Linked DNA regions of Homo sapiens: all the other regions are linked to region 1. The links are contacts of gene promoters, found by promoter capture Hi-C in human tissues and cell types (Jung and others, 2019). All regions are on one chromosome and are shown on one strand. The core of a region is centred on a gene start or on the middle of the fragment in contact, and the rest is flanking DNA. Distances in the headings are between cores, read along the strand shown.

Region 1 (2,700 bases), core at 58-2,557:
GTTTCTGGGGAAGAGGGGCCGCTGGAACCTGGGTCCCGGCTTTCCTGGAGCTTCAGCCGAGGCACCTCTTTGGTACCCAGGCAAAAGTTTTTCAGACTCAGCAAAGTGGCCGGGTTGGCCAGCTTCATGCTTGCCATGCGGGGGATCAAGGTGCACAGTGGGGTGGGGCTCTCCTGCGACGGCAAGGTGGCATCTTCAGTCGGCAGGTGAGGTGCCAGGGCGGGGTGGGGAGGCTGCGGCGAGCCCTTGTTCCCGACCGAGCCTCCGGAGCTACCTTCGTCCAAGGACGTGATCGACTCGTTCCGAAAGCGGCTGTACTTGGCCCTGTGCAGCATCCCGGGGTGCCCGAAGAGTCCTACATACAGCACGAGTCCTGCCAGGCTGTCCTGGCCGCGTTCTCGCATAGCCTTGGCAGTGCTGAAACAGGATACTGTTGCATAAATCGCCTCGTCGTCTGGTAGATAAACGGTGCAGACATCAGATACCTCAACGCCCGATGCAACTCACAGCAGCCACCTCTCCAACTCTGCTCTCGAGCTCGCCCACCTCGGCTCCCGGCCCCTTAAGGGTGACAGCCCATGGGGGAAACGCCTCCCCTGCTCTGATTTCAGTCTCTCCCTGGCCCAGGCAGAGGCACCAGTGTTCTCGCCTTGGAATCCTTGTCGGGAGAGCCTAGACCCAGGCTCCCGGCGGCGCGGGTCGCTCACGGCCAACTCTTAGGCGCAGAACCCGGGCGAGCGCCGGTCGGGGGGCCCGCTGCATCACTAGCCTTGCAGGAGCCTAGTAGAAATATTTAGCACCCGACTCCCACCCTCACCCCAGCCTTCTGTTCTGCACACAGGAACTTTCGAACCTGCTCCCTTCGGCTCTCACAGGGCGGGGCAAATGACTGGCCTATTAACCCTTTATTTGTTCCAGTGATTGTTCATTTAAAAAGGAAAAAAAAATGTATCTATGAACCAAAGGCCCTTTTGCCTGGGTTCGTTGATTCCAAAGGCTGCCCTCTCTTGGAAGATCTTGTCTTGCATCCCGTTCTGGGCCACCAGCCAGGAGTACTACTGACGGGCGCTGCTCCGCATTGTTTCACTGACTTGTGATGGGTCCGTGTTCCTCAGATCCCCTCCCAGCCTGCCTACCCTCGCTCAGAGCTTCCCTCCCTCCTGGATTCCTCTCGGAGCTTTTTTCAGAAGCCCATTTGCAGCCGAAAGCTGAGATGTGCAGGATGATACGCAGCGTGTTGAAATTTTTATGAATGAACTTTGCCGAATGAATTTCTCTGTGTGTGTGCAAGCTAATAAATCTGTGAATGAAGCTGAGAATAGCTGTAATTGACTGACGGTCTCAGAGGTGCTTGGTTTTTATCCAATCAGGAGGCAGCTTGATGACTCATACACCATAAATATACTAAACTAGTAGCCGAGAGAAATAAAGCTAGCGGGAGAGGAGGGACGTATTTTATTTTGTGGTATCTGATGAATGAGTTAAAAGGAAAGGCAATCTTTACTACAGATCATTAGCCGGGGAGCAGCAGGTTAAAAGATCTATTTTCTTTCTTGTTGAGATGGCCGGGAGGGCAGAGCAGAAGAGCTAAAAATTAGACCCATTGTTACAGGGATATTAGGACATATGGTTCACAACTCCTGTGGGAAGCCATGATGCATTTTTCTTAGAAACATAGTTCTTTTTTTATTGATTGTTGGTTCCATCTTCCGTCTGGTGCGACTTCCTGTACCTATCAAATGCATCCTGAAGACATGATGACAACTGCAAAGGCTTAGCACACAGGAAGCCAAAACCAGAGCTGGGAAAAGGAAATGCAGGTTCTTCAGGAATGGAGAAGAGGAAACTGCTGAAACACTGGGGGTGTGGGGTGTCGGGGTGGGGTGGAAATCACACATAGGAAGAGATAAAGAACTCTCAGAAAAGATTGCATTACTCCGTGTCTCAAGGCTTTGACATCTGAAATTGTTCATTAATTAAAAAATTAAGACAAACTGGCAACCAAAGGAATTAAGGGTGCCACCTTCATTATCTTATTGTCCCTAATGCTGGATTAGGCTTATGTATATTCATGACTTTGGGAGCCTGAGCTCCCTTGGGATCCAAACACAGGTTCTGAATTAAATGGTTGAGAGTGACCAGTGAAAGCGGCATCCTCCTCCCAAGCTCCCTGGTCCCCCAGGGAAATAAAGCACCCATCACATCCTGTCTGCCAAGCCTGTTCAGACATTTCTTTCCCTGGAAAGGCCTTTCTGCATCTTCATAAATCTTCCCTTCAATCCTTGTTGACCTCCTTTTCCCTGCCCTACATCTCCTCCTGGCAAAACTGAGGGAAGTAGCTAAATCAGTTGGACCCCACATCCCTGGGGCTGAGGAGACAGGCTCTGGGCAAGAATATTTACCTCTCATTCCTCCTCATTCCTCATCTGCTTTCTTCCTCTCATTTTTCCTGCCTTCCCCTGGGTCCCTGGGTCCCTGTGTTGCTTCTGTTATGCTATGATGACCTCATTATATGCTCCCTTTAGAAAGTTACTTTACCTCTCCGTGCCTGAATGTCCTCATATGTTGGCAGCAGCCATCTAATGGGGTTGTTATGAGGGCTTACGAGGCCCAATGCTCCATACAGTGCCCATCTCACTAAGTACATGTGGGCAGTATGAAAAAATGGCCATTGGAACCAGAGCTACCTCCCCTTGAAGC
Region 2 (2,836 bases), core at 40-2,539, 44 kb before region 1:
CTCCCTTCTGGGTCAGGGCTTCCCAGGTCTGCTGTCACACCCAAGTAGCTGCAAGTCACAGCATTTCAAATTCAACAAGCCCCAGGGAAATAGTTCAAGAAGCTGGGATGGGGACAGGATTTTGAAGCAAGGGACTGATGTCTGGCCCTGGCACTTGGAAATCAGCCTCACTGCTTTCAAGACCTCCCTGGATAAGGTCCCTAGTCTACTGGTGGCTGGAATCTCCAGACTTCAAGTAGGACCACTTGACACCATAGGACATTTTAAAATTTGATCCTCCCCTCCAGTCAGCGTTTCCCTCTCCTGAGTTGACGGTTGAATGTTTTTGCATCCACTCTTGGGAGAAGATGCACACCCTCTCACACTCTTAAAAATTTATTTTAATTTTTTTTTTTTTTTTTTTTGTAGAGATGGGGTCTTGCTCTGTCACCTGGGCTGGAGTGCAGTGGTGTGGTCACAATTCACTGCAGCTTTGACCTTCCAGGCTCAGGTGATCCTCCCACCTTGGCCTATAGCATATCTGGGACTACAGGCTTGCACTACCATGCTTTATTTTTGGTAGAGATGGGATTTCACTCTGTTGCTCAGGCTGGTCTCAAACTCCAAGACTCAAATGATTCTCTCACCTTGGCCTCCCAAAGTGCTGGGACTACAGGTGTGAGCCACCATGCCTGACCTCTCTCACATTTTTATCAAACTCCCTGCCCAAATGTTGCCACCATGGACCCATGATGTCCATGGTCATCTTCCCTCTGCCTTCAGCTCTCTTCTTTCAGATACTTTCATGGCTGGATCCCTTACTTTATTCAGGCCCTAGCTCAAATGTCCTCTCCTTAGATAGGACTTCCTGACCACCAGATCTAAAAGTAAAAGACCATCACACTCGAGCTTCCATAACTGCTTAGAACACAATCAGCCATGCCTGAATCATGTATAGACACATCTACAAGAAACAATATCCAGATACCATACCAGATATCTTCCCCTTGGTGTGTATGTTAGACATAACTGAATCCTCAAAGGAGAGGGGAAAAAAAAAACAGTTCACCTTTTACTATTTACAAAATAATAGGGAAATATAGGCCTACAAGTTCACGGAGTTTGTTTTTTTTTTTTTTTCTGAGACGGAGTCTTGCTCTGTCACCCAGGCTGGAGTGCAGTGGCACGATCTTGGCTCACTGCAAGCTCCGCCTCCCGGGTTCACGCCATTCTCTTGCCTCAGCCTCCTGAGTAGCTGGGACTACAGGCACCTGCCACCACGCCTGGCTAATTTTTTTTTTTTTGTATTTTTAGTAGAGATGGGGTTTCACTGTGTTAGCCAGGATGGTCTCGATCTCCTGACCTCATGATCTGCCCGCCTCGGCCTCCCAAAGTGCTGGGATTACAGGCGTGAGCCACTGCGCCTGGCATGGGAATTCCAATTACCTTCAACTGTGCATGAGCAGGAGCTTTGTAATATTGCACATCTGAGTGATGAATGATCATTCTTGATAAACCCGAATAATGCACTCATTTTAATTTACAAATTCTTAACATTAGTAACTTCCTATATCTTACTTGGTAGGTTTCTAGTTGTATGTAAAAATAAAAATCTACAAATTATTCTGCCTGCCTCAGCCTCCCAAAATGCTGGGATTACAGGCATGAGCCACCGCGCCCGGCCAGAGATTTTTTTAAGTAGATAAAAATAGATAAATGGCTGGGAAAAGGGGGTACCAATTAGTACAAATAGACTGCAGAGCCATCCAGCAATACATATCAAAAGCCTTTAAAACATTTATATTGTTTGACCTAGTGATCCTAATTCTAGAATTTGTCCTTTGGAAATATAATCAAGATATATATATGATGTTAATCACAGCATTACTTATAATGATGAAAAATAGAAGAGGCCAGGCATGGTGGATCATGCCTGTAATCCCAGCACTTTGGAAGTCTGAGGTGGGAGGATCCCATGAGCCCAGAAGTTAAGATCAGCTTGGCCAACATATCGAGACTCTTGTCTCTATATATGAAGAAGAAGAAGGAGGAGAAGGAGAAGGAGAAGAAGGTGAAGAAGAAGGAGAAGGAGGAGGAGGAGGAGGAAGAGGCAGAGGAAGAGAAGAGAATGTTATGCAGTCATTAAAATTTTAGAAAAACAACCCATTTATCTATTGACTGATGGATGAATAGACAAAATGTAGTATAGACGTACAATAGAGAGTAGTATTGAGCCTTAAAAACGAATGAAATTCTGACACATGCTACAAGATGAATTAATCTTGAATACATTGTGCTAAAGGAAATAAGCCAGACAGAAAAGGACAAATACTGTATGTTTCCACTTTTATGAGGTACCTAGACCAGTCAAATCCATAGACACAAAAAGTAGAACAGTGGTTGCCAGGGGCTGGGGAGGAAGAGGAAATGGGAAGTTATCGTTTTTTTTTTTTTTTCCTTTGAGATGGAGTTTTGCTCTTGTTGCCCAGTCTGGAGTGCAATGGTGCAATCTCGGCTCACTGCAACCTCCGCCTCCCGGGTTCAAGCAATTCTCCTGCCTCAGCCTCCCAAGTAGCTGGGATTACAGGTGTGTGCCACAATGCCTGGCTAATTTTGTATTTTTTTAGTAGAAACAGGGTTTCACCATGTTGATCAGGTGATCTCAAATCCCTGACCTCAAGTGATCCATCTGCCTCAGCCTCCCAGTGCTGGGATTACAGGCGTGAGCCACCACGCCTGGCCAGAAGTTACTGTTTAATGAGTACAGAGTTTAATGCGTACAGTTTTTCATCTTCGGGAAGATGAAAAAGTTCTGCAGATGGATGGTGACGATAGTTGCGCAACAATGTGAATGTGC
Region 3 (2,739 bases), core at 142-2,641, 56 kb after region 1:
TGTACTACAATTGCCAGACCTGGATATATTGAAACTATTCTTGAGAAAATAATTGAGATATACTCTCAAGTCCTTTGGCTCAATTACTAAACTTATCTAACATATTATTGATTTTTTTTTTTTTTTTTGAGATGGAGTTTCACTATTGTTGCCCAGGATAGAGTGCAATGGCACAATCTCGGCTCACTGCAACCTCCACCTCCTGGGTTCAAGCAATTCTCCTGCCTCAGCCTCCCAGTTAGCTGGGATTACAGGGACCCGCCACCATGCCCAGTTAACTTTTTGTATTTTTAGTAGAGATGGGGTTTCACCACGTTGGCCAGGCTGGTCTCGAACTCCTGACCTCAAGTGATCCTGACCTCAGGTGATCTGCTTGGCCTCCCAAAGTGCTGGGATTACAGGCATTAGCCACCACGCCCAGCATATTATTGATTTCTATCCTCTGACCTCAAGCAAGTTTTCCAGTTTAACCTCCCATCTATTAACTCATTCAATAGAATTTATGATCCAACCAAAATGAGTTACTCAAATGAGTTACCGGAGATGTGTGGTGAAAAACATCTTGACACATACAAATTCTACTTGTTTTTTAAATTCATTTCAAATGTTACCTACCCTGCCACAAACCCAAAGTGACCTGTCTCTGCGCTCAACTCTAACCACACTCAACTAAGTATTAGGTGTGTATATGCCTATGTTCTTCTACTACACAGCAACTTTCCCAAAGATAGCAGGTCTATTCACCTTAATGTATCATTCAGAGCACCTTACTGCACACATATACTAGACCACCAGTAAGAATCTGTTAGATGAATAACAGTGCAATTAGGATATGAACTGTCTATCAGAGAAAGTAAAACATTTTTCTTCCTTCTCTAAAATTCTCCTGGCTGGCAGCACAACTTAACTAGACTGAACTACTCAAATCTGAAAAGCCTTTCAAATGGATTGAATAACAACAAAAATTAAGTGAAAAAGCTCCATACTAAATAAAGTCCACATGAAATCAAGTTCTACCTCTATACATTACCCCCTAAATGATGAACACACAGGACAAAAATTTATAAAAATAAACATCAGTAAAATTAATGTTAGATTAAATATATATAACCAAGACAAAAATGAGTTAATACTTCTGAGTAATTTATAATTTAATACTAGAATCACATGTTAAGACATAAAAAGTACTCACAATGTTCACAATGTAACAAATTAATTTCTTAATGGGAACATTTCCTATAACAGCTTACAAATAGAGTTTGAAAAAAATACCTCAAAATATAAAGACTCAGAATTTGGATCGCTTCTATGGGATTGACTAGAGCTTAAATGCTTATTATCTGGTCTCTTTTGCAAATTCTGTCTTCTTTCTGAGGAAGTACTGTGTCCTCGGCATCTGAATCCAACCTAAGTAAACCCCAGAGGGGAAAAAAAATCTAATTATTTTTAAATAAATGTTTCACTCAAATATATAACATACTGGCAGAAAAGTACACGCAAGTGTACAACTCAATAAATTTTCACCAAGTGCATCACTTATTTTAAAGATCAAGTTTCTGACAAGTAAGGTACTTATAAGAAAAATAGAAAAATGAGACAATTAATCCACATTGCTTTTTTCCCCTCGACATGAATATTTATTAGCAGCTTTATTCACAAAAGTGAAAACAGGAAACAAACCAGATGTTCTACAGTGGGTGAACAGTTAAACTAACTGTGGCATATCCAGATCATAGTATAGAAGTCTGTATCAACCACAAAAAGGAATAAACTACAGTATTGATAAACTCAACAACCAGAGAACCATGGAAGTGAAAAAGGCCAATCCCAAAAAGACTGTATGAAGGCATACAAAATTATTGAAACAACAAAATTAGAAAGGGAGAATAGATCAGTGGATTCTAGGGGATAAGGAGCAGTTGGTGTGGCTATGAAAGCCAACAGGAGGGTCCTTGTGATGATGGATCTGTTCTGCATCTTGACTGTATCGAGGCCAATATCTGGGTGTGATATTGCACTATAGTTTTGCAAGATGTTACCACAGGGGGGAAACTGCATATTACTTGCTTATTTTTTTTAGAGACGTGATCTTGCTCTGTTGCCCAGGCTGGAGTGCAGTGGCTTGATCATAGCTCACTACAGCCTGAACACCTAGGCTCGAGTGATTCTCTTGCCTCAGCCTCCCAAGTAGCTGGGACTACAAGCACATGCCACCACACCCAGCTAATTGTTTTATTTGTATTTTTGTAGAGACAGGGGTCTCGCTATGTTGCCCAGGCTGGTCTCAAACTGCTGACTTCAAGCAATCTTCCCACCTTGGCCTCTCAAAGTACTGAGATTAAGGCATGAGTCACATGCCTGGCTTTTTACATTACTTTTTCAGTTAGGATCTTACTCTGTCACCCAGGCAGGAGTGCAGTAGTGTGATCACAGCTCACTGCAGCCTCAACCTCCTGGGCACAAGTGATTCTTTCACCTCAGCCTCCCAAACAACTAGGACCACAGGTGTGCACCACCACACCCAGCTAATTTTTTTTATTTTCTGTAGAAGCAGGGTCTACCTATATTGTCCAGGCTGGTCTGCAACTCCTGGGCTCAAGGGATCCTCCTGCCTCGCCTCCCAAAGTGCTGGGATTACAGGCATGATTCACCGTGCCCAGCTACTCTTTAATTTAACTACTGTAAGTCTTCTGATACTTGCAGTTTATTTTTTTATAAAATAGATAAAACAATTAGGAG

What was found. Contacts are between HindIII fragments. The study calls those that stand out against the background at their distance.
Region 2: a contact is called between a fragment that was not itself captured here and the fragment with the promoter of SHC4 in region 1, in 1 of the 25 tissues and cell types used here (bladder).
Region 3: a contact is called between a fragment that was not itself captured here and the fragment with the promoter of SHC4 in region 1, in 3 of the 25 tissues and cell types used here (IMR-90 fibroblasts, adrenal gland and aorta).

What each region holds. Positions count from the first base shown.
Region 1 is chr15:48,962,612-48,965,311 of GRCh38, forward strand. SHC4 (SHC adaptor protein 4) reads right to left here and starts at 1,308. Exons shown (of 12, transcript NM_203349.4): 1 at 1-1,308. The coding sequence starts at 404. RefSeq lists enhancers at 1-284, 285-786. The HindIII fragment of the contact is 15,905 bases long and covers 1-2,700 here.
Region 2 is chr15:48,918,912-48,921,747 of GRCh38, forward strand. The region is part of intron 2 of SHC4 (SHC adaptor protein 4); the gene reads right to left. Among named protein-coding and RNA genes, the nearest start is that of EID1, 42 kb to the left of the region's middle. The HindIII fragment of the contact is 9,487 bases long and covers 1-2,836 here.
Region 3 is chr15:49,018,146-49,020,884 of GRCh38, forward strand. SECISBP2L (SECIS binding protein 2 like) reads right to left here. Exons shown (of 18, transcript NM_001193489.2): 8 at 1,273-1,407. Among named protein-coding and RNA genes, the nearest start is that of SECISBP2L, 27 kb to the right of the region's middle. The HindIII fragment of the contact is 7,040 bases long and covers 1-2,739 here.